Regions from separate parts of the Homo sapiens genome. Here all the other regions are linked to region 1. The links are contacts of gene promoters, found by promoter capture Hi-C in blood cells and fetal thymus (Javierre and others, 2016). All regions are on one chromosome and are shown on one strand. Each heading gives the region's core, a stretch centred on a gene start or on the middle of the fragment in contact. The rest is flanking DNA. Distances are from core to core; before and after follow the strand shown. Region 1 holds the start of STARD10 (StAR related lipid transfer domain containing 10). Region 2 overlaps P2RY6 (pyrimidinergic receptor P2Y6). Region 3 has its middle 3.0 kb from the start of P2RY6. Region 4 overlaps LOC124902709 (a long non-coding RNA gene). Region 5 has its middle 9.2 kb from the start of IUR1. Region 6 overlaps IUR1 (imatinib upregulated ABL suppressing lncRNA 1).

What was found. Contacts are between HindIII fragments. The CHiCAGO score rates a contact against its expected background, and 5 or more counts as called.
Region 2: a fragment that was not itself captured here is called in contact with the fragment with the promoter of STARD10 in region 1 in 2 of 17 cell types (M1 macrophages and endothelial precursors); the score reaches 6.4 in M1 macrophages.
Region 3: a contact is called between a fragment that was not itself captured here and the fragment with the promoter of STARD10 in region 1, in 1 of 17 cell types (M1 macrophages). The highest score is 5.8, in M1 macrophages.
Region 4: a contact is called between a fragment that was not itself captured here and the fragment with the promoter of STARD10 in region 1, in 2 of 17 cell types (erythroblasts and neutrophils). The highest score is 5.8, in erythroblasts.
Region 5: a fragment that was not itself captured here is called in contact with the fragment with the promoter of STARD10 in region 1 in 2 of 17 cell types (M1 macrophages and M0 macrophages); the score reaches 7.7 in M1 macrophages.
Region 6: a contact is called between a fragment that was not itself captured here and the fragment with the promoter of STARD10 in region 1, in 4 of 17 cell types (naive CD4 T cells, M1 macrophages, M2 macrophages and 1 more). The highest score is 6.3, in naive CD4 T cells.

What each region holds. Positions count from the first base shown.
Region 1 is chr11:72,791,446-72,796,507 of GRCh38, forward strand. STARD10 (StAR related lipid transfer domain containing 10) reads right to left here and starts at 2,602. Exons shown (of 7, transcript NM_006645.3): 1 at 1,430-2,602. RefSeq lists enhancers at 727-1,226, 2,358-2,927. The HindIII fragment of the contact is 8,350 bases long and covers 1-5,062 here.
Region 2 is chr11:73,283,493-73,288,554 of GRCh38, forward strand. All of the region lies in intron 1 of P2RY6 (pyrimidinergic receptor P2Y6), which reads left to right. Among named protein-coding and RNA genes, the nearest start is that of P2RY6, 14 kb to the left of the region's middle. The HindIII fragment of the contact is 4,518 bases long and covers 285-4,802 here.
Region 3 is chr11:73,266,830-73,271,891 of GRCh38, forward strand. It overlaps a transcript of P2RY6 not described here. Among named protein-coding and RNA genes, the nearest start is that of P2RY6, 3.0 kb to the right of the region's middle. RefSeq lists enhancers at 3,161-3,954, 3,531-3,580, 3,955-4,747. The HindIII fragment of the contact is 1,145 bases long and covers 1,854-2,998 here.
Region 4 is chr11:73,210,971-73,216,032 of GRCh38, forward strand. LOC124902709 (a long non-coding RNA gene) reads right to left here. Exons shown (of 3, transcript XR_007062773.1): 2 at 4,873-5,062; 3 at 3,886-4,218. Among named protein-coding and RNA genes, the nearest start is that of P2RY2, 4.8 kb to the right of the region's middle. The HindIII fragment of the contact is 1,894 bases long and covers 1,505-3,398 here.
Region 5 is chr11:73,189,561-73,194,622 of GRCh38, forward strand. No RefSeq gene overlaps it. Among named protein-coding and RNA genes, the nearest start is that of IUR1, 9.2 kb to the left of the region's middle. The HindIII fragment of the contact is 1,118 bases long and covers 2,104-3,221 here.
Region 6 is chr11:73,162,169-73,167,230 of GRCh38, forward strand. IUR1 (imatinib upregulated ABL suppressing lncRNA 1) reads right to left here. Exons shown (of 4, transcript XR_950294.3): 2 at 2,539-2,602; 3 at 372-503. Among named protein-coding and RNA genes, the nearest start is that of IUR1, 18 kb to the right of the region's middle. The HindIII fragment of the contact is 1,556 bases long and covers 1,415-2,970 here.

The sequences.
Region 1 (5,062 bases), core at 1,352-3,851:
CATAATCCCAGCACTTTGGGAGGCCGCGAATGGATCACCTGAGGTCAGGAGTTTGAGACCAGCCTGGCCAACATGGTGAAACCGTGTCTCTACTAAAAATACAAAAAATTAGCCAGGCATGGTAGTGGGCACCTGTAATCCCAGCTACTTGGCAGGCTGAGGCAGGAGAATTGCTTAAACCCAGGAGGCGGAGGTTGCAGTGAGCCAAGATCGCACCCTTGCACTCCAGCCTGGGCAACAAGAGTGAAATTCCGTCTCAAAAAAAAAAAAAGAGGTCCTTTTCCTTCTTTAGCCTCAGTTTCTCTGGCTGAAAAACAGAAATGATAAGTGAAGGCCCAGATAATTAAATGCTTGGAGGTGAATCCAAGATCCACCTCCAGATAATTCCATTGAATTATCTTGGATACCTTTTTGTTGTTGTGTTTTGTTTTGTTTTGTTTTGTTTTGAGACGGAGTTTCGTTCTTGTTGCCCAGGCTGGAGTGCAATGGCACCATCTCGGCCCACGACAACCTCCGCCTCCTGGGTTCAAGCGATTCTTCTGCCTCAGCCTCCCGAGTAGCTGGGACTACCGGCATACACCACCACACCTGGCTAATTTTTTTTTTTTTTTTTTTTTTTTTTGAGACAGAGTCTTACTCTGTCAGCCAGGCTGGAGTACAGTGGCGCCATCTCGGCTCACCGCAAGCTCCGTCTCCCGGGTTCACGCCATTCTCCTGCCCCAGCCTCCCGAGTAGCTGGGACTACAGGTGCCCGCCACAACGCCCGGTTAATTTTTTTTTTTGTATTTTTAGTAGAGATGGAGTTTCTCCACTTTGGTCAGGCTGATCTCAACCCCCAACCTCAGGTGATCCGCTCGCCTCAGCCTCCCAAAGTGCTGAGATTACAGGCGTGAGCCACCGTGCCTGGCCTATCTGGGATATCTTGAAGGATCTTGGATTTCTATTTCTACATATACCTGCCTTTCATGACTTGCCTGGGGAGGCCCAATCTGTAATGAGACCTCAGGGTCTCCCAGCCCTTCCCCCAACCTACCCCCAAAACCTCTAAGAGCACTCTAGAGAGAATCAGCTGCATACAGCCCAGCTCCACCGCTCCAAGGGTCAGAGAAAAGTCCCCTTCCCTGGGGTTAGCTGCATGATCCTGCAGGTGCCATGGTGTGCCTAGGTGCCACCTCGCTTCACCTGGCTGGGGAGTGGCTCCTAGACCTCAGCTCAATGCGCATCACTTCCCCTTCTCATCAGCCAGGCCAGCCCAGGTATCACCTCCAGCTCCACTGCCCCCAGATGGAGTTACCTGAGTACCCAATTCCTCCCAAGCTCAGAAACAGTGTCCACTGCCTTCCCACTCCTTTCCATTCAGAGTCTGTCCCCTTAGTGCTGCCCCCTCATCTGTCACACCTGGGTTCTTTCCCTTACTTGGGCCACTGACCTGAGAAGCAGGGTCTGTACAGCTCCAGCAACACTCTCCTCTTCCTCCAGAATTCTCCAGATCCTCCTCAGCTTCTTGGCTCTGGTGCTCATCTCAACACAGCAGGGTCTTCCTCCATCAGGCCAAGGTGGGGGTAGGAGAAGAATTGGGAACAGGGACTCCCCTAGGTTCTCAGGGTACAGTCAGTCAATCTAAGCCTGTATCCAACAAAGACACTGACCCCTGGGGTACAAGGAAGGGCTCCAGGCCCAAAGGCAGGAGGATTAGGCTTTAGCTCTTGCTCACAGCCTGCTGAGACCTGGGGCAAGCCCCTGTCCCTCTTTGGGCCCTCAGGTTTGCAATTTGCAGAATGAGGAAATGGGTTCCTCAATCTACAATCACCTGACTATAATAATATTTTGCCTTTATATACCGCGTGGGTAAATTCCTGAAAGTAAACTAAGCTGTTTTCACCCCTGGATCTCATTTGATCCTCCCAACAGCCTGTTTGCATTTACAAATGAGAAAGCTCAGTTCCCTAAGGGAACAAAATTACCCAAAGTCACACAGCAAGCTGGAAGCAGAGCCTGGGTGCAGTCCTTGAATCCTGATCCTTCCCTGGTCCTTTACTCTCTATGATGCTGGAAATCTGCCTGACTTCCTCTAACCTGTTGTCCCATTTGTAAAAGGACTGTTGTGAGGACTGAATTAGGAGAGGCGATGAAGAGGGTCATTCCTTGTGAATCATAAAAGAAAGGACCACAGAACGATGACTGGACCGTTAGGTTACTATTTATTACGGTTATCTTCGCTCAGGCGCCCCCACGTGTCGATCCCGAGACTCTCGGCTTGCGCAGGCGCTCTTTGGTGTTTACAGCGGCCGCGAAGCCCCGCGTTTGCGCGTGCGCTTCCCGCCCGGGACCGCCCAGAGGTCCCGGACTAGGGGCGGACTAGGGGCCGCTCTGCCTCCCGCCCCCTAGTGGTTGTGGCCGCTCTGTCACCACGGCTCCCGGGGCCTCTGTCGGCTCCACTTTGGTTGAGACGTCTCCACAGCCCAACAACGGCGGCGATCTGAGGAGAGGCAGGAGAAAATACGGCGCGCTCGGCATCGTCCTTCTGACCGGGGACTCCAGCATCTCAGTCATCGCGTCACCAAGCCCCACGTGCAGGTTCTGGCATCCATCATGGCAAACTGGAGACCGCGGTGAATTCCACCGGAATGGCGCGCGCATTGCCACATGGGAACTGTAGTTCTTGGCTAGGACCTTTCTGGGGCTGGGCCGCTGGAAAAACTACATTTCTCAGGAGCTCAAGAGTCAGGCTGACAGAAAGGGGGCCCGCGGCATGTTGGGAGATGGAGTTTGGGGGGTTCGTGCTAGCAGGGAAACAGTGAAGCAATGGAGCCAAGTGTTCTGAGCCTGGGCCTGTGGGTTTGAGTTGGGCAGGAGTTACACAGTAGCTCTTATAAGAGAGGAGTAGCATTGTTGCGGCTTTTAGAAAGAATGCTACTTATTAGTTGTGTGATCTGAGCGATCAAGACAAATGCCCCTTTATCTTTTTTATTTATTTATTTTTTGAGACAGGGTCTCTGTCTGTCAGGCTGGAGTGCAGTGGCCCCAGAACTGCTGGCCTCCCGCCTCACCCTCCCAAAGTGCTGGGATTATAGGCGTGAGCCATCAGGCCTGGCCAGATGCCTTTTTATCAACTACGATGGACCTTAAGGTTAAGGTTAAGGAAACAAACGTTGCCTACCTCAGGGCTCAGCTGTCAGCTGGCATGGCAACTTCTTAAATTTCTACTGCTGCCAGAAAAACCACACTCTTACTAAACCCCTAGCAATAGGAGCTATCATGCAAATTGTCAGACTCTTCTTTACTGAGATTTACAACTCAGACCACTACAACGCTGATCGACAGAGGACAGGCCTTACAAACATTCTTTCCTGATAAGTAACTGCAGACCTCAGGCCAGTTTCAGCAAGCTCATAGAGACTGCACGCAAACTGTGTTTGTGTCCTATAGTCCACCTTATGATGCAAAGAACCAAATTCCACCTCACTTTAACGCAAAAACCCCATCCCAAAGTGAACATGGAACATATGTTACAGGTGTTTACCCATTGTGCATGCACTCACATCCCCTCATAAATATGTATAGCTTTTCCCCAAAACCTGCTGAATATGTATGATTATTGTGAAATACAGACCCTGTGAGTCATAAACCAGCCTAGGCCGGGAGTGGTGGCTCACGCCTGTAATCCCAGCACTTTGGGAGGCCAAGACGGGCGGATCACGAGGTCAGAAGATTGAGACCATCCTGGCTAACATGGTGAAACCCCGTCTCTACTAAAAATACAAAAAAATTAGCTGGGTGTGGTGGCGGGCGCCTGTAGTCCCAGCTACTCGGGAGGCTGAGGCAGGAGAATGGCATGAACCTGGGAGGTGGAGGTTGCAGTGAGCCGAGATCGCACCACTGCATTCCAGCCTGGGCGACTGAGCGAGACTCCGTCTCAAAAAACAAAAACAAAAAACAACCAGCCTGCCTTTTCCCTATACAAAGAGAGAGCACCTTTGGTACCTACAGGAGAGTGTCTCTTTTCAGTTTGCAAACTGATGTCGCTAATGAAACTGCCCTCTACTATTTAGGCATCCTGGTGTTCTAGAGGGTAGCAGTCTGCACCTCTCACAGGGCTTCCTCTTCCATCACTCCTCAGAGACTGTATTCACAGGGGTCACCTGTGTGTGAGATGCAGTTTGTCTTTTTTGGGGGGAGGGCAGGGGCTGTTCGTTTGTGGTTTTTTTTTTGTTTTTTGTTTTTTTTTTTGAGACGGAGACTTGCTCTGTCATCTAGGCTGGAGTGCAGTGGCATGATCTGGGGCTCACTGCCAGCTCCGCCTCCCGGGTTCATGCCATTCTCCTGCCTCAGCCTCCTGAGTAGCTGGGTCTACAGGCACCCGCCACCACGCCGGGCTAATTTTTTTTTTTGTATTTTTTTAGTAGAGATGGGGTTTCACCGTGTTAGCCAGGATGGTCTCGATCTCCTGACCGTGTGATCCGCCCACCTCGGCCTCCCAAAGTGCTGGGATTACAGGTGTGAGCCACTGTGCCCGGCCTTGTTTTTGTTTTTTTGAGACAGGGTCTCATTCTGTCACCCAGGCTGGAGGCAAGACCATTGTTCACTGCAGCCTGGACCTCCTGGGCTCAATCTATTCTCCCACCTCAACCTCCTGAGTAGCTGTGTTTATAGGCACACACCACTACACCTGGCTAATTTTTTTTTAATTCTCACTTTAATTATGTTTTGCCTTTTTTTTTTTTTTTTTTAGATGGAGTCTTATTCTGTCACCCTGGCTGGAGTGCAGTGGCTCACTGCAACGATCTTGGCTCACTGCAACCTCCGCCTGCCAGGTTCAAGGGATTCTTCTACTTCAGCCTCCCAAGTAGCTGAGATTACAGGCGCACACCAACACGCCCAGCTAATTTTTTTTTTTTTTTTGAGAAGGAGTCTTGCTCTGTCGCTCAGGCTGGAGTGCAGTGTCGTGATCTTGGCTCACTGCAACCTCTGCCTCCTGGGTTCAAGAGATTCTCCCGCCTCAGCCTCCTGAGTAGCTGGGATTACAGGTGCTCACCACCATGCCCAGCAATTTTTTTTTTTG
Region 2 (5,062 bases), core at 1,294-3,793, 490 kb after region 1:
CCAGCCCTGGGTGGTGCTCAGGGACGTCAAGCCCAGTCATGCTCAGTGGCCTGTTTTCTCCCCGAGGCCTGTGTTTTCAAGATCACTTTGGAGATTTCCTTGTGGATGGAGCTCAGACAGTTGCTGGCTCCTTGGTTCCATCTTGCCAGCCTCACCCAGAAGACAGAGTGCCCACTGCTCTTCCCGGAGCTGGGCTCAAAGGCTCCTTGCTCTGCCCTGGGCCTGACTGTAAGTGTGTGAGAAATGGGTGCAGGGAGGCAGGGCTTGTGGGTGACTCTTCCAGAAGCTTGATTGCGCAGGGAGGAAGAGGAACAGACGGAGAGGCACGAGGGGTCAAGGAAGACATTTTGCTCAGATGAGAGAGGGACTGGGGAGTGGGAAGTGTTTGGGCTGAGGGGAAGGAACCAGCAGATGCAGCACAGGGAAGGTGCTGAAGAGAGGGCAGGAGGTGGTACCTGGAGTCCCGCGGGGCTGTGGATGGGTGAGGAGAGAAGGTGCAGACACACGGGTTTATTTGGACAGTGGGAAGCTGAAGGCAGCCCCTCTGAAAGGCTGTCTGCTTTGAAGGAGGAGTTGAGGGCTGGTAGAGTTGAGGGTATGGGGCTGACAAGAAAGATGGGGCCAAGGCTTAGAAGACAGAGGAGGGAGGATGCCCTAGGACAGACAAAAGGTTGGGGACCCAGCCAAGTGGGGCAGTGACAGGGTCTGCAGGGCCTCAGGCACTCAACCAAGTCATGTCCTCCAGCTCTACTCAGCCCCACAGTGCAGGATGGAGCAGTCTGGTGTCACCATGAATGAGGGACACGAATTGACTTGTTGTGTTCATGGGAATCCTGGGTCCTGGTGGGGAGGCCTAGGCTGGCAAGGGGAGGGAGAGAAGCCAGGAAGATCCTTGGCCGGGCCCTGGTGCAGAGGGAGTGATCCTGTGCAGGGAGGTGAGAGTACCAGAGAAAACCTCAGGCAGGGCAGGAGGGAGATGCAGGCTGCCTAGCCCTGCCAGGCGAAGTTCTATTCACCCGTCTCAGCTGGGACTGTTCACAGCCCAAATCTCACACACACGGCCAGGCAGAAGCAGCCCCAGGGCTGGCTTAAAGGCCTTTGGTGCTCACGTTTAATCTCTATCTGCTCCCAATCCCCAATAAACACATACTCTTAAGTACAAACTACAGCTTGCTACATGAATAGCCTCAAGCCAAGACCCCCGTGCACCCAGTCCTCTCTGTGTAGACATAATTGAACCACGTCTGGAATTTATTTGTTCATTCACTCAACAAATATTTATTGAGAACCTACTATATGCCAGACACCGTCCTAAGTACATGCAGCAGTGAAAAAAAAACACGAAAACCCCTGCCCTGGTGGAGTTTATGTTCAGTCATGAGAGAGAGACAATAACCAATAAATAAGTAGAACAGTGTATTAAAAGATTTTAAATGCTAAGGAGAAAAATATAGCAGAGAAGGGGCGTAGGAATCACACATGCACATGCGTTGCGTAGGGGTTTATAATTTTAGCTTAGAGTGGTAGGAGAAGGTCCCATGGAGAAGGTATCATTCGAGTGACCACCTGAGGGGGTCTGTCCTACGTCCCTTTTTTGAGACAGGGTCTCGCTCTGTAGCCAAGGCTGGAATGCAGTGGTGTGATCATAGCTCACTGCAGCCTTGGCCTCCCAGGCTCAAGCGATTTTCCCACCTCAGCCTCCCAAGTAGCTGGGGTTACAGGCACACGCCAACACATCCAGTTAATTTTTAAACATTTTTTGGTAGAGACAGGCTTTCTCTATGTTGCCCAGCCTGGTCTCGAACTTCTGGGCTCAAGTGATCCTCCCGCCTTGGCCTCCCAAAGTGCTGAGATTCCAGGCGTGAGCCACCACACCCGGCCTGTCCTGTGTTCTTCATGCACACTCCACAGCAGGAGCCACTGTTGCCTGCTGACCTCCTACATTGCACTCTGAATGAGGTAGTTGCCCCTTACTTTGATCTCTTCCTCCCAGGCCACCCCTTGGACACCCACAAAGTCCTCTTCCTCCCACACTGGACTGGCCACAAACAGGCCAGTTTGAGGGTGAAGATTTGGGGTTTGGCGACAGGCAGTCCTGCTGATTGGAAGATCACTGACGGATTGGTGGCCCTGGCAAGTAACTAAGCTGTTGGGGGCCTTAGTTTCCTCCTCCCAAAAGAAGAGACTATGCCCCCCTTACAGGCCCCAGGCAGGCAATGAAACAGGACAGAGGGTAGCAAAGGGTTTTGTCTTCAGGTTTGAAAACAGCCACAGACCACGGCCTCATCCTTGAGGATCCACCACTAGGTCTCCTGGGACCTGGACATGTGCCTGAAATTGCCTGGTGAGAATGAAGACCAATAGATGGATGGTCTTGGGACAACCTCTGCAGGGTGTCCTGGGGCAGCCAAGCTATATGGCCCCAGAGGCAAGCTGGACTGGTGTGGGAGAGCAGTCACTAGGGACAGATCTTGGGGCTTGGTGTGACAAAGCATATCTCCCAGTGAGCTTTCTCAAGGTGGAATGCAGTGGCCTAGGAGAGGAGTGAGCTCCCTGCAATGGGAAGTATGCAGGCAGGGGCCAAACAAGCCCAGTCAGGGAGGCTTCAGAGAGCCCCCTTCTCTGAGGGGATGATGGGGAGACCTCTGGGTCAGGTGACCTTAAGGCCTCCCTAGCCCTGAGGGTCCAGAACTCAGAGGCCTGTCATTGACCCCTGGGTCCAGCTGGACGTCTTATCACTGCCAGGTGGGCTCAGGCCCCAGGAAGAGCTAGGGATGATCAGAACAGGAATCAAGGCAGGGGCTGCCTTTCACGGGAGGGGAGGAGTTCCCTGAGGCTCCCCTTCCACACCCAAACCTTACCTGTACGAGTTGTGGACAAAACTGCCTACCTTCGGGCCTCAGGGTCTGCCTGGGAAATGGGCAGGATCATAACCCACAATAACCACTTGGCGGGGTTAGTGGTCTGCCTTTCCTGAGGTGGGGACTGGGGGACCCAAGCAGTCTCAGAGGTGCTACTCCTGAACCCATTACCTTCATTCTCCTTGACAAATCTTCTCTGTCATCAGTCAAGACAAAGATTTAAAAAAAAAAAAAAAATGGAACCAGGCAGCACCGAGGACAGAGCCCCGGCGCTCATCTTTATAGACTGGATCCAGTCATCCAACATTTCCCAGTGCCTCTTGGGCCAAAGCCTATACTGGTCTCTGAGGCTCCAGAGGCAAAGCAGACCTTGTCCCCTGTTCCTAGCAGAGTTAGAGAAGGAAAGGGAGGGAGTCTGACACCGCCCCTTCGACTGGTCTTCTTCTCTGCCCTGACTCTTGACCTCCATTTCTTTGTCCTTTCTTAAGCCACTCTTCCTGAGAGACAGGGTATCATGGTGGATTTATAGTGCACTTTGGGCAAGTTCCTAACCTCTCTGGCCTCAGTTTTCTCGTAGGGAAATGTCACCTGTCTTCCTGGGCACAAGGTGCAGATCTACAGGCAGGACTCCTAGTTTCAAGTGACAGAATCCTAGGTTAAATGGATTGAGGCAAAAAGGGAGTTTATCAGCTCATGACACCAAAGGTAAAACCTCAGGCACAGCTGAAACCAGGCACTCAATGCTGTTCTCAGGAAACGATGCATCCCCATCTCTCATCTCTGCCATTCCTTGGCTTTCTATGTGGATAGTCTCCTCCCTGGTGGCAGTATCTCCGTCGCCCAGGACAATGCCTGGAACTTAGTTCACTTGGCTCCAGCAGCTCCTGCCTCACTTTCTACTAACTTTGCAAATATTGTGGAAGACCTGTCTCCTTCCTGATGCCCCAGTAAAAGCGCCAGAATTGACTCTGAGGCATGCAGTGAAGGTCACTCCTCCACCCTGAGCCAGTTACAGGCCTGAGGGGCCCACTCTTCTCTCATTGGTAGGCTTAGATCACAGACCCATCACTCCCAGATCCCCAAGACTCTAGAGGGGAGAAGGGGGATCCCCCAAAGGAAAATCAGAGGGCAGCGTCGTCATCATAAGAGGGGGTCTGGGAACTGGGTGGGAAGAAGCTACAGAGGGGCTGAACAATGACTGCCAGGCTAGCCAGGTGGCTGGACCTGGGCCATCTCTCCCCCCACGGACTGGAGCCTGGTTATCTGGGAGGATGGGCGGATCCTGAAGGCACTAACTGTGGCCATCAGCCAACTGCACTACTTGCAGCTAAGCAGCAGGTTCCTTCTCAAAGGGAGAACCAAGTGGCCTCTCCCACAAGGAGACAAACAAATGGGACAGCCTGGTTGTCCAGGCAAGGCACAGAGAGCTTCTCCCACTAGCTCCAGGGGAGAGTTTTTTAGGAGGCCCTGGGGATCTCCTGGAGCACTGGGTGGGAGGTGCAGTGGCCCTATAGGCGTGGACTTATACAGGCTGGGCACCACAGGCCGTCCCTCTGCTCACCGGGGGCTGCCCTGTCACAGCTGCTCCCTGGGCCTCTGTGCTATCCACACAGTTCCTCAGTCTCAGGGCTGCCCTTGACCTCTCAGCCCTGTGCCCACCGGGGCCGCGTGGTCTCTAACCCTCTTCATTCACATTCCCAAGAAAGAACCTCTTGCTAACTTTGCTATGCCTCAGTCACCTCATCTGTAAAGTGGAAACAGTAGTTGTGAAGAGTGAATGAGACACGGCACATCAAGCATTTTGCACAATGCTTGGTGCATCGTTAGTGCTCAATGAATACATGTGTCCAGGTTGTGGTGGGACTTGTGGGTGCACTCTTCGGCAACTGGGGCCCCTCATACATAGTGGGGTCTTGGGAGATGCAAGTTCCATCTTTGCTAAGCTTGAAGAGGCTGGAGAGAAACCAAAGGAAGCAGCCCCAACCCTCAAATTCCCCAAAGCTGCAGCTTCCTCTTCCTTTCACTGAAAATGGCTGTTTCAGTTTTAGCTTTAATTCCTGTTGAGTGGGAGGTTGAGAAGGGGAAGTGGGAAAGGAGTAGAAAAATCAGGGTCCCTGCCTTCCACGTTCCCTTCTGCCAGGTTTGTCCTTCTGTAGCCAGCCAGATGCCACAGGTAGGACCAGAACTCCTCCAGGTGAGAG
Region 3 (5,062 bases), core at 1,176-3,675, 480 kb after region 1:
AGTACTGCTGCCCCAGAGGCCCTGAGAGCTTCTCTGGAAGGTCTGGACAGAGCCCTCCTGGGGAGAAGGAGGCCTGGCCCAGCCCTGACTTTCTGAGTGATAAGGCCAGCTGTCTTCTTAGCTGTCAGGGAGGTGGGACCAAGTGATGCTGTCGTCACTTCTGGCCCTGATTTCCTTTAATCCCCAATTCTGGCTATAATTGTTTATAATTCCACACCCCTAGCCCTAAGAGTCTATAATTACTCAAACATTCTAGAAGTCTACAATTCGAACTCCAACTTTCTACACTCCAAAGCTGTAACATTCCCCAATTCTGGCTCCAATGTTGGAGGATTCTGGCCCTGGCTTTGGCAGTCTGACTCTTGTAAACTTATAAACTCCCAAGGAAGAGGTTACTTCAGCAGAATCATGTGAGAAGCCCCAGAAAAGGTCTCCTCCCTGCCTAAGCCAGCCTGGAGTAGAGGCAGGTGCCTGGTAAAATGGCCATATGCTCTCTGGGGTGGATGACAGTGAACCCAGAGGCCCCTCCTCATCAGAGCAGCAGAGTTGCTGGGAGTACCTCACAGCTCTCAGGGGACGGTGGCCCTAGAGCAGAGAAAGGTTCAGATCTTGGATTGTAGGCACCCCTCAGGATGAGGGAATTGTGGAGTCACTGGGCACCTTGCAAGGCCATCAAAAGGAAGGAGAGAGAGAACAAGAAATGGGGCTGAAGAGACCTCAAAGGCAAACCTCATTCTCTCTGAGAGACCTCAGGTTGTAGAAAAGACTCCTGTGGAGCCAGCAGGAGCAGCATCGTTGATGCACAGCCATGTCTGAACTCAGCATAGGCTGGGGGGTGGAGAGCTCCAAAATTCACAGTGATTAGCTTAAAACCTTGCCTTGAGCTGGCGACAAGCAGGACTGGTAGCTGACTGAGCAAGCTGGGGACAATCCTCCCATAGAAACCTTTGCCTACTTTCTGTGAGTATTCTGACCAGGACTTATGTGGGATGGCTGAAGAGGGTGAGCCAGACAAACCATCTGTGTTCTTGGGGAAACCTGTTAGCTTCTCTGGGAGGGGCAAAGGAAGGGCTTGGGCATCCAAGGACTCAGCTCTTCCTCTCCCATCTCTTTCCTGGTTATGAAAGCTCTTCACATGCAACTTGCTGCTGAGCTAAGCTAGAACACTATGTAAGCTGGCTGGAAGTGGGTCCATGCATGTGATGGTGCCTGCGTGCCTGCCGTGGGTGGTGTGTTCCCAAGTGTGGCAGGTGCCAGGGCACGTGTGCATATGTATGTGTGAACCTGTGTGAGTTATGTGGAGCTGTTTCCGGGGCTGGGTGTGCTGTGCATGCACCAGTGCAGAATTGCACCCACAGGCATGTGCTCCTTACAACTCTGTTAGGTCTCTGTGGCCTCTCTGTGGTTTCCTATGATGGAAGGCAAACAGCAGACCCCAGACTCTGGACAGTATGAGGGGCTCAGGCTGCAGAGAGGGAAAACCTCTGTGGCTCAGCAAGAAGGCCTAGCCCTGGCCAGACATGGTGGCTCACGTTTGTGATCCCAAAACTTTGGGAGGCTGAGGGAGGAGGATCGATTGAGACCAGGAGTTCGATACCAGCCTGTGCAAACTAGAAAGGCCCTGTCTCTACAAAAAAAAATACAAATTTAGCCAGGCGTAGTAGCTTATGCCTGTAGTGCCAACTACTTGGGAGGCTGAGGAGGATCATTTGAGCCCAGGAGGTCAAGGCTGTAGTGAGCTGTGTGTTTGCACCACTGCACTCCAGTCTGGGTGACAGAGTGAGACCCTGTCTGGAAAAAAAAGATGTCCAGTCTCCTCCTGTCCAAGGAGACCACCAACCATGCTTCCTGCAAGCTTGAAGTGGGCCAACTCTTTTTAGGATCTGATCTGAATCCCAGAGGGACCACATCTCCTCCCACGGACCAGGGCTAGGCAGCCTCCTGTTTCAGTCAAGAGGGCTGAAGGTGGTGTTTTCCCTCCTGACTCCTGGGAGCAGCAAGGGGCCAATGGGCGGTGGCCAGGGATGTGCACGAGACCATTCCTGCCTGCCAGGGGCCTCATTACAGGCTACAGAGACCCTTCTCAGCCCTTGACTCATGTGGATCGGAACAGCTCCATTCCACAGCTGAGAAAACCAAGGTTCAGGAAGGGGTGAGACCCACCCAAGGGAGTAGCCAGTACTGAACTGTGAGCCCAGCCCAGAGCCAGGAAGGAAGACACTAGGACTGAGCTAGCAGTGGCTGCCTGGCGGCAGGGCCTCGGGGGTAGGACGTGAAGGTCAGCCTGGCCAGCTAGTGGTGAGCATCACCCAGCAAGGGCATGTGGGGTGTAAACTGTAAAGCACCTGATTTATTGTAAAGGACCCAGGGGCTTCCTGCTGGTGACTGAGTGCAGGAGGGTGGCTGTGGAGGGGTCAGTGCCCACAGGCAACGGAGGGTCTAAGGGGCTTCAACCTTGGGCACTCCTCCCCTCCCCGTGAGGAGCCTACACCCTGGGCTGAGCTGGGAGAGCCTGCGCCTGAAAGTTAGCCCCTAAGGCTTCCTCCTCATCTTATGTAACTGCTTTTATTCCTGGGGAAAATCAAGAGCCTGGGAACCCCACAAATCTCCCGTGACATCTGGGACAGTTTGAAGATTATGATAAGGATTTCGGAGCCTGGGAAAATAAGGCCTGTGGACTAGGGGTTTGCGGGGCTCCCCAGGAGCAGCATGTGTGTGGAGCACATGCAGAGGCCCGGGCCTGGGCAAACAGGTATGTGAACAGGTGTACACACTCCAGAGCCACTCACAGAAACACACACACACATACTTAGGCACAATTCCAAACACCTGTGCCTTGTGAATGCATGCGCATCTTCCAGCACAGGTACACATGGCTGACAAGCCCCCAGGCAGACACTGTGCAACCAGCATTCATGTCCTCCCCCAGCCTGGGGGCCTGACTGGGGTTGGTGGCTCTCAAGGCTACCTCAGGGCTATGCCTCTGCCTCCCGGAACAAGCTTTCCCAGGCCTCCTTCCCAGCCTTGTCTCTTTCCCGTCTCTCCCCCCACACCTTCTTACCACAAGGACAGAGGAGGGGCCCTTCCTGTCAGCTGGCTGGGAGCAGAGGTGGCTTTGTCTTTTCGGAAGAACTGGTTCTGTGGAATTTGTGCTTATTTCCCATCAAGGATCAAGGACCTGCTCTGGGGCTACCTCAGGGCCCCACAGGATGAGGGGCTGGTTTTCAGATGAGTTTTCTGCTTGCCTGTCATCTGGATAGTGTCTAAAAATTTGCAAACTGCCTTCTTGTCAGTGTCTTGCTCATTCTTCATGACACTCCTGATATGTAAGTGCCTTCACTTCCTCTATTTGGCAGATGAGGGAGCTGAGGCCAGAGAGGGATGGGACTGCCTGGACTGCCTGAGGTCACACAGCAAGCTGAGGCAGGGTTGACCAAAACTCTCATGAGCTGGGGTTGCAAGGAAAATGCCTTCAGCTTCCTGGGGCTTGGGGTAGGAGAATTTGGCTGTCAGAGCCTGGAGGGTGGGGCAGGCTGGCACTACCAGGTGGGCCTGCCACAGAAACACCTCACACTCCTTTACCAGGAGCTGACGGGGGGCACAGCCAGCCCCTCACAGGCCAGCACTGTGCTGGGAGGCTCACCCCTGAACCTACCTTTGTGGACATGCCAAGAGAGGGCAGGAGAGGGAGCTCTGCCTTGCTGTGTGACCCAGGCAAGTCCCGACCCTCTCTGGGTCCAGCGCCCTCTCGCCTACTGGGATATTGGGATTGGGGATTGGTTGAGGGATGTGCTCCCTCTCTGGACCACAGAGGAAGCAGAGAGCTTCCCCAGGGCTGGGAGTGGGGCACAAGCTCGGGATGCTCCCTGCCAAAGCGTTGGTGGCCCTGAGTTGCTGCCTGTGCCCAGGGAGTCCCAGTCTTCGCACTAGCCTGCTGCTGAGATCCACTGAGGCAGAGCCTGGCACAGAGTGGGGGCTTGGGGCCTGGGGGAGGGTCTCCTCCAGGCTAGGTGGCTGGGAGAGGGTGATCTGGCAAATCTAGATGGGGCCTGTCCACCTGTCCGAGGCTGCAGCCCCCTAGCTCTCCGCCCCTTACCCTCCTTTATGTTTCTATATCGCTGCTCTTATCACTATCTGGCCTGCTATATATTTACTCATTAACCAAAAGAAACTAATCTCCCCTGCTAGACTACAGGTGTCTCAAGGGCAGGACTTTGTTTTTTGACCTCAAGTGCGTTGAACATTACCCGAACAGAGTAGGTGGCCAATAAGTACCTGTAAGAAAGAAGAGGAGGAGGAGGAAGCAGGAGAGTCATCTTACAGACGGGGAGGGCCCACCATGGGCCCAGGTAGAGCCGCCCGGGCTGCCTTCTCCTCATCAAGCCCAAGCTCAAGGATGGATTGGCGCTGGGGAGGGGAGGATTGCCTGGGGTCAGCCTTTCCCCCCCGGCATCACCCTCCATCTTCGGTGCTGTAGCAGGACGAGCCGCGGACAAAACCCTTCAGACACTGAGATAGTGAAGGGAGTGGCTTTAATCAGCTGGGAGCATCGGCAGGCTAGCATCTTAAAATCTGAGCTCGTCAGGTGCTCAACTTCTGTCCCTTTTAAGGGCTCACAGCTCTAAGGGGGTCCACGTGAGAGGGTCGTGATCAACTGAACAAGCCAGGGGGTACATGATAGGGACTGCGAGCACCGGTGGTCAGAGTGAAACAGAACAGAACGGGAGGTTTCACAATGTCCTTCCATACAATCTCTGGAATCTATAGATAACAACAGCTGCTAGGTCAGGGGTCGAATTTTAACTACCAGGCTTAGGTCAGGCAGGCCCAGGCCTGGTTTCGGGTCTGGTTCCTTGGTTTCGGGTCTGGTTCCTTGGTTTCAGGTCTGGTTTTTAGGCGCCGGGCTACCTGCCTTTAGTTTCGCTTCTCTTTCCTTTTCCGAGTATAAAACAGTATGAGAGGGTCTCTCTCCTCCCTCAGTGCCATCCTCATCCCTGGGTGGGAGTTGTCTGGATCCATAGGGTTGGAGCCACAGATAACAGAGCCATTAATCTCGGGGTCT
Region 4 (5,062 bases), core at 1,202-3,701, 420 kb after region 1:
GATCAAAATAGATGAAATAGCAATAGAAGGAGAGGTTGATATAAACAAAAAAGTAGTGGGAGACACATCATTTTCAGCCTGCTGGGTTATATAAGTGAAAAAGAAATACTGAGGCTGGACGCAGTGACTCATGCCTATAATCCCAGCACTTTAGGAGGCTGAGGCAAGCAGATTGCTTAAGCCTAGGAGTTCAAGACCAGCCTGGGCAATATGGTGAAACCCCATCTCTACTAAAAATATAAAAAATCAGCTGAGTGTGGTGGCACCAGCCTGTAGTCCCAGCTGGGAGGCTGAGCTGGGAGGATCACCTGAGCCTGGGAAGCCGAGGTTGCAATGAGCTGGGCTGGGCAACAGAGCAAGACCCTGTCTCAAAAAAGAGGAGAGAAAGAAAGAAAAAGAAAGAAAGAAAGAAAAAGAAAGAAAGAAAGGAAGGAAGGAAGGAAGGAAGGAAGAAAAAGAAAGAAAGGAAGAAAGGAAGAAAAGAAAGAAGGAAGGAAGGCAGGCAGGCAGAAAGAAAGAAAGAGAGAAGAAAACAAAAGAAAAGAAAAAAAGGAAGGAAGGAAGGAAACGAAAGAATGAAAGAAAGGAAGGAAGGAAGGGAGGAAGAAGAAATAAAGAGAAAATTATTTTTCAATATTATATATGTGTGTTACTTACGTATATAGTACAACTAGGCAAATAAAATATCAAGAGGTGAATCTATAAAAAGAAAACACACATCTCCCTTAAAAATATCCATGGAATGCATAAAAAGTAAATTATAAAAAATAAAATATTCACCAACTACAGACTTTACCCTTTCTTTACAGACTTTAATTTAACCTTTCTTCCTCCACATACCTGCAACAAAACTAGAAACTCATAACATGTTTAAGCAATAAACAGAACTCCAAAACCTAAATATTCCCCTAAAAAGACTTTTGGTTGTGTCAAAGAGTAATTACAAATTCAATTACTACTATATTATAGTATTATAATATATAATATTTTATATATATTATATATATTATTGTTATAATAATTTATAACAATTATAACTATTGTTATAAAACAATGATAAAGAAAGCTTTACATATCAAAATGTATGTAACATAGACGAAGCTGAATTCAGAGGGAAATGATAGCCTTAAAAATGCTTACATTATTGAAAAAGAATGACAACAAAATAGGTATTCACATTTATTTATTTATTTATTTATTTATTTTGAGACAGAGTCTTGCTCTGTCACTCAGGCTGGAGTACAGCGGCATGATCTTGGCTCACTGCAACCTCCAACTCCTGGGTTCAAGTGATTTTCACGCCTCAGCCTCCCGAGTAGCTGGAATTACAAGCGTGTGCCACCATGACCGGCTAATTTTTGTATTTTTAGTAGGGACGGGGTTTCATCATGTTGGCCAGGCCAGTCAAACTCCTGGCCTCAAGTGATCCACCCACCTCGGCCTCCCAAAGTGCTAGGATTACAGGCATGAGCCACCGCACCCAGCCTAAGTATTCACTTTAATAAGCTTGTAGAAAAAGAACAGAAAAGCTACCCAAGGTAATTAAGAGGGAGAAAATAGTAAAGATAAAAGCCAGAACTTAATTACTTAGTAAACTATAGAGCTGAGAAATAAATTCAAATGTGTTTTAAACAAGCAAGCAAAAAAATTCCTTAGTATGGCATTATAAAACCCTTCGTGGCTTGGCCCTGGTGAACCTCTTAACTTTATCCCTTGACAGTGTCCCTGCACACTCAACTCCTGCCATTCTGAACTATAGACTCCTTGCTATTTGAACTCAGCAACCTGGCTGATGCAGATAAAATTTTGGAGATAGGGCTGATATCCCTGATTCTTTGAGCTCCTGTCACTTCTTACCACTGACATTCACTAGTGAAGTCCACCTGTCCTGTAAGGCTCAGCTCAAAGGTCCCCTCTTCCAGGTAGGCTTTGTGGATTGGAACAACTACAACACAAGCCAGCGTGGGAGGAGCACCGCTAGAGTGGGTGAACCCAACATGTGTAGATTAACAGGTTAATGAGCGAAGCTAAACCCAACTGTGGGCATGGAGGAAAGCTGGCTACTGGAGGTGGCATTTGAGCTGGTTCATGGAGGAGAAATGGGATTTCAGTCTACTGGAGCAGGGGAAACAGCCCCCCAGGAAGAAGGAAAAGCATGAGCCAACATGGGGGTGTGTGTATGAAAGGACAGAGTGTTTGGAGAATGGTGGGACGTTCCATGTGACTGCAGCGTAGAAGGCTGAGGAGGAGTGGGGACAGGTGAGTGAAGAAAGGTCAGCAGGGCAGGTCACACAGGGCCCTGAAGGACACTGCGCCGAGGGCATATGCTTCATCCTGCCACTGGTGATGGGGAAGGGTCAGAAGTATTGTGAGGCTGGGACTGCCAGACAGTGAGTTGCCTGAGCCTCACCCTCACTGAGAAGGAGGAATGTGGGGCGGTGGATGGTTTGTGGGAGATTCCATAAGCTGGCAGGCTGCCCAGGAGGAGCTAGGGGGAGATGGGGTCAGAGGCCTGGGGAGTGGGGAAGGGGCCCATCTCTGAGTTTGTTTCTCCTCCCTGACCCATTTCCTGGTTCCTGCACACCAACACCCTCCCCAACCCTCATCACAACCAGGTAGGGTCTAGGAGGCAGCTCCTGGCAGCTACCCCAGTCACCACAGATAGAGTCACAGGGCTCCATCCATTTGTCTGTCCCAGCCCCCAGAGGGGCCTCTGTGGTCAGGTCTTTGTGTCTGCACAGTGGCCCTCTTTGTCCTGAGCAGCCTGTCCCCATCCCACCTCCCTCCTGCGCTTCTCTCTCTCCTGCCTGGGTCACAAAAAGCACCAGCTTCGAAGAGAGCCAGGCCAGAACTCTGATCTTGGCTTCCCCCACTGAGTCTCTGTGTGACCCTGAGCAAGTTACTTTGCTTCATGGATTTTTAGTTTTTTGGTTCTGTGAAAAAGAGCTGTTGTAAGCAATCAAACTCCTGGCAAGGAGTTTGGCCTGCCACCCGGTGCTGAGACCCAGATAACAAATCATGAACTTGGAGACTCTTACCTCATCCTCATGCTGTTCACTGGACCTCTTACCACCAGCTCCCACCTCATTCTCACCCTCACCCTTTTGGCCAGTGGCTACCATTCTCCCACTTGACAGACAAGGAAACCAAGGCCTGACGACAGGGCTGACTTTGTGGGCATGTGACCTGGACAGTAAGGGTCATGATTTGAAGTGTTAAATACTCTGCTATCACCATCTTGAAATTCTTAATTTTTTCTTATTTTTTCATTCTTTTGTTGGAAATTTTAAATTTTTGAATGAGGGGCCCACATTTTCATTCTGCTCTGGGTCCCGCAGATTAAGTAGCTGGTCCTGCTTGAGGGGAGATGGAACAGAGGCATGCCCAGGCCTGGACTAAGCTTCCTGCATCCCAGGCGGCCTCACTTGGGTGCCCGCATCCTGGCATGCTGAGAGCTAGAGTTTCCAGGCTGCGTTTGGCATCAGAGCCCTGGACCCTGCCCAGGAAACCTGAGGAGCACAGTTCTCGGCTGGCAAGGGAAGGGAGGATGGTGCAGGTCAATGCAGCAGTTCAGGGAGCAAGTAAGACAAGGCTGCTAGAGCCAGCCCAGCCCTGTGTAACTGGAGCTGCCAGTGTGGGTCCCAATGCCATGACCCAGCCATAACTCTGGGAACTCAGCAGGGCCTTCCTTCCCATCAGGCTGCAATTCTGGGGCCAGGAGACCCACCGCAGATTCACTGCTTTGGACTTTCGCTTCCCCTTTCTGAACCTGTTTCTCTACATGTCACATGAGAATAAAATAATGCCTATCTCACAGGGTTCTGGAGAATATTAAGCGAGATACCTTAAACTTAATGACTAGCACAAAGAAGGTGACCACTAAAATAGAGTTCTTACTCATTCACTCATAATATATTGTGACAAATGTTCAGGGACAGGGGTCAGGTACGGTGGCTCACGCCTGTAATCCCAGGACTTTGGGAGGCCAAGGCGGGTGGATCGCTTTAGGCCAGGAGTTCAAGAACAGCCTGGCCAACATGGTGAAACCCTGTCTCTACTAAAAATACAAAAATCAGCAGGGTGTGATGGTGCACACTTGTAATCCCAGCTACTTGGGAGGCTGAGGCAGGAGAATCACTTGAACCCAGGAGGCGGAGGTTGCAGTGAGCTGAGATCACGCCACTGCACTCCAGCATGGATGACAGAGCAGGACTCCATCTCAAAGAAAAAAAAAGAAAAATTATTCAGGGACAGTGCTAGGTGTTGGCCATTTAATTGTGAACAGAATGGAACCTGGCTCTGCTCTCAGAGAGATCCCTGTTAGAGGGGGAGACAGGCAGTGATAGCAATAACAGCATGGTAAGTGGTGGGGCACCTGGCCTGGGTCTTCGAGGACCCATGGTGGGGAGCCAGAAGCAGGGGGCACTGTGGGCAGAGGGAGCAGCAAGAGGCAACAGGAGGCTGGTCAGAGGTGAGAGGTGAGGCAGAGAGGCAGGGAGGCTGGAGTGGCAGGCTAGAGAGCTAGGCTTTATCCAGAGGATGGTGGAGCCACCAGAGAGTGTAAGGCAGGGTATGGCATCAAGGGGCAACAGAGACACCACTGTACCCTGGGAAGGGGGGATTGGAGCCTGGGCCAGGGCAGAGGCTTCATCCCCAGCATGCATTTTCAGAGCAAGTTTTCCCAGGGGCAATGAGAGAAGTTGAGAGAAGGAGGATGAAAAGGCCTGAATGAGCCAAATACCTCCTCAGGGCTGGAGAGACAGGAAGCCTCCTAATACATGGGAGAAGCTGAGGCTGGAACTTTGCCCTTCCCCTCCTGATCTGCTACTGCTAATGGAACCCTCCTCCCGCCCCCATGGTTCCATTACCCACCTCCAGGGGACCATTACTGTGCCTGGGCCTTCACCATTAGCCTGCCTTGGCTGCTTGGTTCCAGGGAGACTCCCTCGATGCTATTCCAGCCTTTCAGATGGCCTGTTGTGTGACGCTGGCTGTGTCTCAATTTCCGGTTTGATCAATGGTTTTACATTACTTCAGCCACAAAATCTTTCATGTGCTTGCA
Region 5 (5,062 bases), core at 1,413-3,912, 400 kb after region 1:
GCAAGCAGGGGCCACGGAGGGAAGCTATGGGTCTCCTTCCCCCACCTGCAGCCTTTGCTGCCTCTGTTACTACCTTCTGTCTTTCCAAATCCTCCCCTCATCTCCAGCTCCTGCTTCCTCCCTGACCCTAGGGGGCTAAATAAGATGGGACACTGAGCACCCTGTGGGGAGGTGAGCTGTCTGGTGGGCTTTGTTTAATTTTCCAGAGCCCCCTCTCTACATATAACCAAGGAACTTTCTAAAGACAGGGCTGGGCTTCAGTCCTCCAGGGGCAGCCCTGTGAACTGGGCTCAGAAAACCTCAGATTTGAACCCTCAACCCCATATCTGTCTGTGTTACCCTGAGCCAGGTGGGCCTCCCTCTGAATCCAGGTGCCTCATCCTCACACTGGCCCCATGAGGCCTTTGCAAGCTTCTGCCTGGTTCCTGGTTCTCATGGTGCCCCGGCCTTGTGTGTGAATGAGTGTGTGTGTGCACACTGGACTTTGCTGCACATGGTAGCCCACAATCAATATTGAATAGCCCACCTCAAATCCTTTTTGAAAGGCTGAGTACCTGAATAAATAGATAAATGTTGACTGAGTCTAAAAACACACATGCAGCCTGAGAAAAGCCTTGTTTATCCAGCCTCCCTAAATAAGGAGTCAATTCCCAGAGCGGACTCTCCAGATGATTCAGGATGGAGGAACCTAAAGATGTGGAAGAATAGAGGCCTCCTAGGTGGAGGGAACATCGTGAGCCACAGCTGAGAGCTGGAGGATACTTGGCTGCAAGTCGAACAGCCACATGAGATGAGCTGATAAGGCTGGCAGGGTCCAGAGCCTGGAGGGCCTCGAATGCCAGGCCAAGGAGCCAGACCTTATCCAGAGGGCAGTGGGAACCATGGAAGGGTTTTGAGCAGGGGAGTGACAAGGCTGGGTGTGTGGCCAGCAGGGTCCCTCTCTGGTTGCTGCATGAAGCATGGACTGAAGGCAGACAGCAGTGTCAAAGGGCCCTCTGCTTTTGAGGTTCAGGAGGAAAAGATGAAGGATGAAGTTGGGCAGTTCAGCGGAAGGTGAGAGGTGGACAGTCCCCAGGATAGCACAGAGGGGTGGCCAGGATTTAGTTAAGGATGGGAGGAGGGCAGGCAGAAAATGAGAGGAGGCTTGGTGGCTTCTGGGTTCCTGGCCCAGGTGACCGGCTGGTTGGTGATGCTCTTGCTGAGGTTGTGACAGGAAGAGCAGGTCTGGGGAAAGATAAAGAGTTCATCAGCTTTGGACATGTCAGGGGAGCAGGCGTCCCAAAGGAGGATTGATTAGAGGGCTGGAGCCAGGTAAATGTGGACAGATTTTCCCTGAATGACATTTTACTGGATGACTTTAAAGTATCCCAAGTATCCTGGGGACAGTCTTTGGCACCAACTGCCTATGGTCCCCAAGACAGATAGGACCAGGACTTGGGTCCCAGAGAAGGGTCAGCAAAGGGTCTGACTAGGGTGAAGGGGAGGGTCTAAGATCCTTGGCTCAGGAGTACCCCCAGGGTAATGCAGGAGTGGCTGGCACAGAGGTTTAGAGGTAGATAAGGGGTAGGAAAAAGCCATGGGTGGGCTGAGCTGGCAAGCCTCAGAGACCAGTCAGCCCAGAACCATCATTGTACAGACAGACAGAGCCAGGCCCGGCAAGGCCTAGGGATCTGGCAGGTCACAAGTCAAGGCAGACAGGTCATCAGCTTCTGGCTCAGTGCTGTACCCTCAGCCCGACTGGCTGGGAGGGGTCAGCTCCGTGTGGGCCTGGGATTGAGCTCCTGGGCCACGTCTAGGTGCTGTGGGCTTGTGTGGTTCGGGTGGAAGCACTGGGGCAGGCAGATGAGAGCCCCACCCTGAGCAGCACCCTAAACCCACTGTCTGTCAGTCTGCCCCAACCCTGTGCTTTTACTTTCTCAGTCCCAGGACCCAGGCTGGGCTGTAATCAGAGGAGGGAACTGGAACCTGGACCGGGGGAACACAAAGCTCTGCACACAGCCAGTCTCCTGGCAGATGCTGAGATGCTCATGGGTGGGTGGGGGACTGTGGCATCAGGGGCCATGTTCCACACAAGGTGAAATGCAGTAAGGGCAATTTCCACAAAGCTTGTTGAGCCAGGTACTGTTTTATGATCTTGAAACAGTGAACAGGATTTATGTTCTAACTAGACATTGACAATAAGCAAACTAATACATAACATAACAATGGAAAGATGAGAGGAAGAAACAGAGCCCAGAGGGATGGGCACCTTCAGTGGGGAGCGGGGAATGGCCACTTGACAGAAGACCCCTGCAGGCCTGATGGGCTGAGTGATTTTAATTAAATCTATGTCCCTACCCCCGACCCATGTACCCCCACCCCGCCTGCCACCAGGCACTCCACCTTCTCCTCAGCTCTAGCTGCACCACTGGGAGTTCCTATTTTTTTTTTTTTTTTTTTTTTTTTTGAGACAGAGTCTCACTCTGTCACCCAGGCTAAAGTGCAGTGGTGCGAACTTGGCTCACTGCAACCTCCACCTCCCGAGTTCAAGCAATTCTCCTGCCTCAGCCTCCCAAGTAGCTGGGATTACAGGCTCCCGTCACCACACCCAGATAACTTTTGTATTTTTAGTAGAGACGGGGTTTCACCATGTTGGCCAGGCTCGTCTTGAACTCCTGACCCCAAGTGATCTGCCCGCTTCTGCCTCCCAAGGTGCTGGGATTACAGGTGTGAGCCACTGCACCCAGCCGCACCATTGGGAGTTTCTGAGGGCTGCCCTTGACTGGACCATTACCAGGGCCTGAGGAGGACTGTGGGGAAATGAGCCTCTCACAAGGTCTAGTCCCTCCCACAAAGTCCTGCCCAAGAGCCACCCCAACCTGCCCACTTGGCTCCTCCAACCTGGGAGCCAGGTAAGAGCTGAGGAGCCCCAGGGCCTTGGCACTGAGTCAGATGTAGCCTGGGAGGTGGAGGTGACTCACTTGGGGGTGTCAAGATCCAGGAAACCACAGCCCAGGGTCAGGGCAGAAACCTGGAGACTCCCTGCCTTGCCTTGCCCCAGAATGATGAATAGGAGGGCCCTGGCCTTTCCTAAGAAGCCCCCAGCCAAGGGTCCTCCTGCTGTCATGAAGGCCCAAGTTCCAGTCAAGTTGTTGAGAGGTGCCCAAGGACCTGCCAGTGCCTGCTTCCTCTGGGCCTCGGCCTCCTAGTCCACTTATAGTGGGGAGCAATGGGGCTAGATAAGCTTCAGTGTTCCTAGCAGCTCTGAATTTCTGTTTCGTTGAGTATGTTGCAGGAGGCCCACAACCTCTGATGGTTCCTGGGGGCTCAGGGCAGGGGTGAATGACAGATGCTGAAAAGCGGGGGTCAAGGGAGGGTTTGCAAGGTTTAGCAAATGTCAATACAGGATATGTTGTTAAATTTGAATTTCAGATTAGCAATGAATAACTTTTTAGTATAAGCACATGTCCCAAATATCCGTTATGTTAAAGAATTTTTCACTGTTTATCAGAAATTCAAATTTGACTGGGCGTCTTGTACTTTCTCCGGCCATGCTAGGTGGGAAAGGTAATTGGAGCTGGGACTTCATCAGAGGAAGGTCTTAGACTCAGACAACTGGAGCTCTCACCACCTCCCTTGCTGCCCTCAGGGTCCCTTATCCATGAACTTCTTGATTTGTTGGAAGGTAGGGGGATGAGGGAGTGAGAACCCTGGGGTTAGGGGAAACTAAGAGCTATGTAGAGAGGCAGAGAGACCCCAAGACCCCAAGAGGCAGCACCGGAACTCTTCCTGGCCTGCACTCAGCTAACCTCGCCACCTCTCTTCCCCAGAACTCCTGCAAAGCTCAACCTCATTCCTACTGCCATACCCTTGCTTGTTCCAGCCCTGCCTCTTTCCATCCTATGCAAACTTTACCCACAGCCTCTGCCAGGAGCCCTTTCTTGGCTATCCTTTAGCGTTGTGACTTCCTCCTCTGGGTTCCCAGAGTGCTGTCAGTCACCCTCCTCCTCATGGAGCTGTTCAATCAATGGAGCACCCTCTCTGGAGGAGGCTTTGGAGCAGACTCTGGGCAGTGATTAGGACAGTGGAGCCGACAGTGATCGGGACAGGCACAGCCCCTGCTCCATGGAGCACACGGTCTGGTGGGGAGGCAGACACACAATCACAAAACAGGAGAGAATGAATCGCCCTTTCACTGGGACCAACTGGTCCATGTCACTGAGGCTTTATGCAGGCAGAGGACACGTTCTGTTGTACTCGGGCCCTACCACAGAGCAGGCTTCAGTGAATATTAGTGGCATAAGTGAGAGTGCAATGATGCAACTAAAGCTGGGGATGGTGGGGACGCTGACTAAGTCTGAGAGGTCACCATGCAAACAGCCTGAACTCGGCACCTCCGGCCGTGGCCTGGACCTGGTGAGGCTTGGCATCATGGCATGCCATTGCTCATGAGAATCTGGCCCTGCAAGAGTCTGCATTTCCAGGGGTCAGGGACTGGATCTTCCTCTCCTCTCATTCCCTCTTGCCCTGGCCAATAACCTGACACAGGAGATGAATTGATAGAGAGCTGATAGATGGGAAATACTGTGTGGCTGTCCCACTGAGGCTGGAAGGACTAGTCACACCACATTGTTCTTTCTCCTCTGCATAGAATGTTGCTTGGGGCAATTTTAGTAGGTAGTCACAATCTCTTTCCAGTATTAGAAGAGATGAGTGACTTTCTCCCTGTATGCAGGTCCCAGTGGCGTTTAGCATCTGCTTGTCCAGACCCCTTCACAGCTGTGGTCGGGGACCCCGCAATGACTGTGACAGGGCCATGCCTACCTACCCTTCACTAAGCCCTGGCTAAATGAGCCAGGCCCCCCTACAGACACCATCTCCAGTGCCCAGATTAAAGAAGAAACTGAGGCTTGGGAAGTGTAGGTGCTACAGTGGCTAAGCCAGGATTTTAACTCAGATTTGTCTAATGCTGAGGCTCAAGCTCCTTCTGTTGCACTGAGCTGCCTCTATTTTTTAAAGTAACCTCTGAGATGTTACTTATTTTTGGAACTCAGAAACTCACTCCAGCTTTATCCCACTTTGA
Region 6 (5,062 bases), core at 943-3,442, 370 kb after region 1:
CAAGACCCTGTCTCTAAATAAAAAACAAAGCAAAACAAAACAAAACAAAAACCGTATTTTAGCTGCAGGGTTCTTTAATCAGAGGAAAAGTTACCCAAAGACTGCATGAAGGCTTTGGTGAGGAGTTGATAGTGGTTAACTGGAGGCAAGAAGGGCAGGTAAGGTCGCATGGGGCTGATAACTATGCACGTGCGTGTGCGTGCATGCGTGTATGTGTATTGAGGGGGTGCTCGTGTGTAGAGGGCACTTTCTCTTGGTCTCCCTCTCCCTGACTTGCCCCACACAGAGGTCTTTTCTGAGGAACCCAGTGGCATAGTATAAAAGTCCCTGACTAATGGTCACTGAAGTCACTTCCTTTCTGGGATACTTACCGGGAGGAGGCCATGTGTAACAGGGGCAGGAAGCTTCTCTATTTCGTCGTTAGGGGAGGACTTAGCAAGTCACCTTGGAGGAGGCCCTCTCTGTTCTGTCCACCACTTGAGTTTATCAGATGTAAGTAGCACCTGGGAGACAAAACAGGACCTTTTGTGGCCCAACAAAGGCTGCCTCTCCTAACATCAAATGGGATGCAGAGCTGAAGAAAAAGGCAACATATTTGGGAGGAGTGAGACGTTGACAAAGGAGCCCCAGGGCACAAATGGAAGAAGGTCCAGTCACTTTCCTTGTGAGGTTCAAAGTTATCTGGCTGCTAAGATGACCATCCCCAGTGAGCCCCACTTGTTGGAAGGAAAGAACCCCTGAGCCCCCAGTGGTGTAGGAAGGAGCCTTGGACTGGTGGCCAGGCTTAACTCTGGGGCTGAGGACCTAGAAGCCCCTCTGGACCTTCCTCCTGGTGAAACTTGCTGGAGCTCAGGAGTGTGAATGAAAGCTTGGATTTGGGGGTCATGTGTTCACAGCTGCTGGGACTCTGAACAGTAAGATGGAGCAAGACTGGGACTCAAGAGTGCCTTTGTTGGAAAGGAGCTAGTGTAGTCCCTGTGGGTTTTGAGCACTCCTGTGACATGGGGGAAGGCCTCCAGAGGGCCAGATTGAACTTCCTGCTGATAAAATCTTGTGGAGCTCAAGCAATTAATGGGGAAAAAATTTGGCCATAGTTTTTACCTTAAGCTGGTGGAGGGACCACACAAGTTACATGCAGTTCTCAAGTTATTTGGTTCTCTAGTTCCAGAGGTGGGGCAGGATGAGGGGGACCAGGAAAGTATATTATTCCTTTTTGCACCCAAGCCAGCTCAAGACAACCCTGGGGAATGGGAGGGAAAGTCTCTGGGCCTCTTTCCTTACTTAGGTTTCCTTCGTGGGTCCCCTTCAAGAGCCGCTCCTCATCTTCAGGATTCCACCATGGCCCCTTGCCTATGTCTACAGCCCATGATAGTACTCAAGTACTCAGGCTATTTCCTGTTCACTGTCCCTACAAAGCTTATCCAGCCTGGGTCCAGGTTCCTCTGTTCCCCATTAGGAGCACTGAGCTCAGCTAATAGACCAAATTGACCGAAGGAGCTGGTGACAACAGTTGGTTAATCCAGCCACTAAGGGCTTCACATGCATCCCTTCCCTGACTCCATTCACATTTCACCAAGGATCACAGTTACTCCAAAGGCACAACAATCTGAGCAAAAGGTTGCTGGAATGTGCTGCTTCAACAGCCTTTCAGCTCTGTTGTGCAAAGAAGGTGTAATTCTACTGGTGGAATTTTAGGCACTTTGAAAGAATGTTTGGGATATAGTTTCTTGCAAATAGGCAACCTTTGCTCACCCACAGAGAAGACAGCATTTTCTGCCTACACATGAGGGAGCCTACGTGAGGCCCAGCTCCAGTTGTGACCTTCAGTTCCACTCCCTAGGCCAAGATGCTAAATTCAGATCACCCATTAGTTCAGAAGCAGGTTAGACCAGTCACCATAAGCATGTGCCTGGGCAACCAATCTTGTTTATGCAAAAGGAGTCTTTAGTCTGCAATGTTTTGCACACCCAGCACACAAATGAAAACAGTTCTTGACTACACTTGGAAGGAAAAGAAAGAAAAGCAGGATAAAGGGCAAGATAAGAGAAGATAGCAAGTGCCAAGGAACTGAATCCTATCAGCCACCAAACCTTCATTTAAGCAGCCTGCTCATCTATGACCTACATTTATGAATTCTTTCTTGCAACCAACCAATCAACCTTCATTCAACTAATCAATGAATGAACCAGTCTTCATTCAGTCAAGCATTCTGTATTTATTAGGACTACTAATTTCATTCATTCATTCACTTTCTCTAACAAATCAACCTTCATTCAACCAGCAAATAATAAGTAGCTATTCACTCTTCATTTATTCAACTAAGTATTCCAAATAGCAAAGCTCAGGGCTGCAAGAGACCTCAAAGACCTCAAAGTTCAACCCACTGCAACCTTATAGGAATTCTGTCCATTACAACCTTGCCAAAATACACAGCTCATTACCTTCAAAGGTTGCCTGGTCTGTTATGGAGCAGCTCTGACTGTGAGAAAAATATTTTAAAAGCTGAAATGGAGTCTGCCCTCCTTGTAACATCCATACCTGGTTCTGATACTTCCTTCCAGGCCACCCGGAATAGCTCAGCTTCTGTGCTTGGAGACCTTGTCTGCAGGCAAAGGTGGAGATTATGTCCTCTGTGGCCCCTTCTCTCCCTCCCCTGTCCCTGTGAGTGATGTTCCCTTGTTGTTCCAGTCTCTCTTCTCTGGTCAGGAAGGTACCACTCAATCCAGGGCTTTCTCCTGGTTTGGGATTTGGAATGGGAGCCCACATTCTAAGTGTAATGTGGCAAGGGGACAGTCACCCCCAGTTCTGAATGGACTAAGCTCCAGAGTGTTTGTCATGACAGCCATTTTGCTCAAGGGCTCTCCCCTCACCCTGTTCCACAACCCTCCACCTCCCTTATCTACAGCTGAACGCCTCAGAGCAGCTAAGCTATGGACTTGCTGGAGATTTCAGAGCTGGTTCAACCCAAAAAGCTTGGGGCCCAAACTGGAAGACAGGGATTAAGTTGGGCCAGCCATTCATTCCTCTGAGGAATTTGAACCTGAGATCTGAGGAGGAAGCTAAGCTGTTGGAAACAGGAGATGAGGCAGGAAGACTCAGAAAAGAGGGAGTGGGTAGCTGCCTGAGTCAGTGCAGGCTATGAGAAAGCAGAAGCTGAGCTAGGGCAAGGGACAGGAGGGATCCACTGCATCTGTAGGGTTGTGGGAGCAAGTGACAGCAAAAAATGACCAATTTAAGCAGAAAAATAATGTGTTAAAAGGACTCTGGGTAATTTGCATAAACTGATCTCCAGTTAAGGGGTGATTTAGCAGTGTGGTATATATTTGGTTCTGAAGAATTATAACACACGACAGGAAAAAAATATGTTTCAGAAAATGTAGGTAATTCTGTAAAGTGATGAATATGTTAATTAGCTTGATTGTGGTAAGCATTTCACAATGTATACCTATGTAAAAATATCACATTGTACACCTTGATTATATATACATTTTATTTCTCAATTATACCTCAGTAAAGCTGGAAAAAATATGACTTCAAATTAATATTTTTCCTTCTGGGTACATAATTTAAAAAATTATTTGATATTATAATTATAAATACATACAATATACAAAATTTTACAATATAAAATTATATATTTTATATTGTATATTTATAATTTTTATGTTGTATATTTTATAATTTTTACAATATAAAAATCATTTTATATTGTAATTTGACATCTATGTAATGTACAATGATTTAAAAATCAAGTCATTTTTCTCATATATAACAAAAATTCAGATCTGAAATTATATAATGATACTACCATAATCACAAGAAAATTTACAATTTCCTCCATGCCTTCTAAGGAAAATATACCTAGGTAGGTTGCAGGTTTTTGGTTTGCTGAGAACGAAGTCTTGTTCAGGGTCAGGGTGATGGCCTTTCCTATGCTAGATCACAGCCTTATATATCACGGGTAAGGAAGAGAACCCCAGAGCTAATTGTGCTATAAAAAAAGTAGTGTGGGGAGAGGGCAGGAAAGGTGGAGGTGGGGTTCACTGGTGAGGAGAGGAGCCTGGGGTTGCTTGAGAGGAGAGAGAGTTGCTGTGGACTGTTTGATGTAAAACACTACTCCATCTCTAGACAGGAATCTACAATACAATAACCATTCCTCACTAAGGCCTTGAGGTAAAGATTTACTTTGGGGCAATTCTAAGAGAAATGTTGAGTCTTGCTCTTTGGCGAGGGGTATAAATGGAGGCACACACCTAGGCTGCATTTTAGGATCCTGCCCAAGGGTTTTTTGTTTTTTTTTGTTTTTTTTTTTGAGACAGAGTCTCACTCTGTCACCCAGGCTGGAGTGCAATGGTGCAATCTTGGCTCACTGCAACCTCTGCCTCTGGGGTTCTAGCCATCCTGGTGCTTCAGCCTCCCAAGTATCTGGGATTACAGGCGTGTGCCACCATGCCCAGCTATTTTTTGTATTTTTAGTAGGGACGGGGTTTCACCATGTTGGCCAGGCTGGTCTCGAACTCCTGACCTCAAATGATCCACCTGCCTCAGTCTCCCAAAGTGCTGGGATTATGGGATTATAGGTGTGACCCACCGTGCCCAGCTCCTGCCCAGGTTTTTTGATGGGCCATTCAATTCTCAGCTGAAACTGGGTATTAATCATTACCCTATGTAAAGAACCAAAGGTGAGCCTCCCTCTCCATCACTGCCAAATTACCAGGGCAGGCGATCCAGCTGAAACAGAGATGGTGTTGGAATGTTTCCCCAAAGCCAGGGGGAAGTTATATCTTTGAGGTCAGCATTCTGACCTAAGAATGAATTTTTCAGAAGGTATATTAATCAGGATTCTTTGGGCTGCAAATCATGGAAATTCATCTCTAGTGTGTTAAGGAAATAAAATAAAGCCCAACCATAAAAGGGGAGTTTGGAATTATTGGCTCACATAAATATGAAAACCAGGAGTATGGCTAGCTTCAGGAATGGCTAGATCCAGGCACACAAGTCAAGTCACCAGGAATCTATCTCCATCTCACCACTCTTTCTTCCTCTGTGTTGGCTTCCCTCT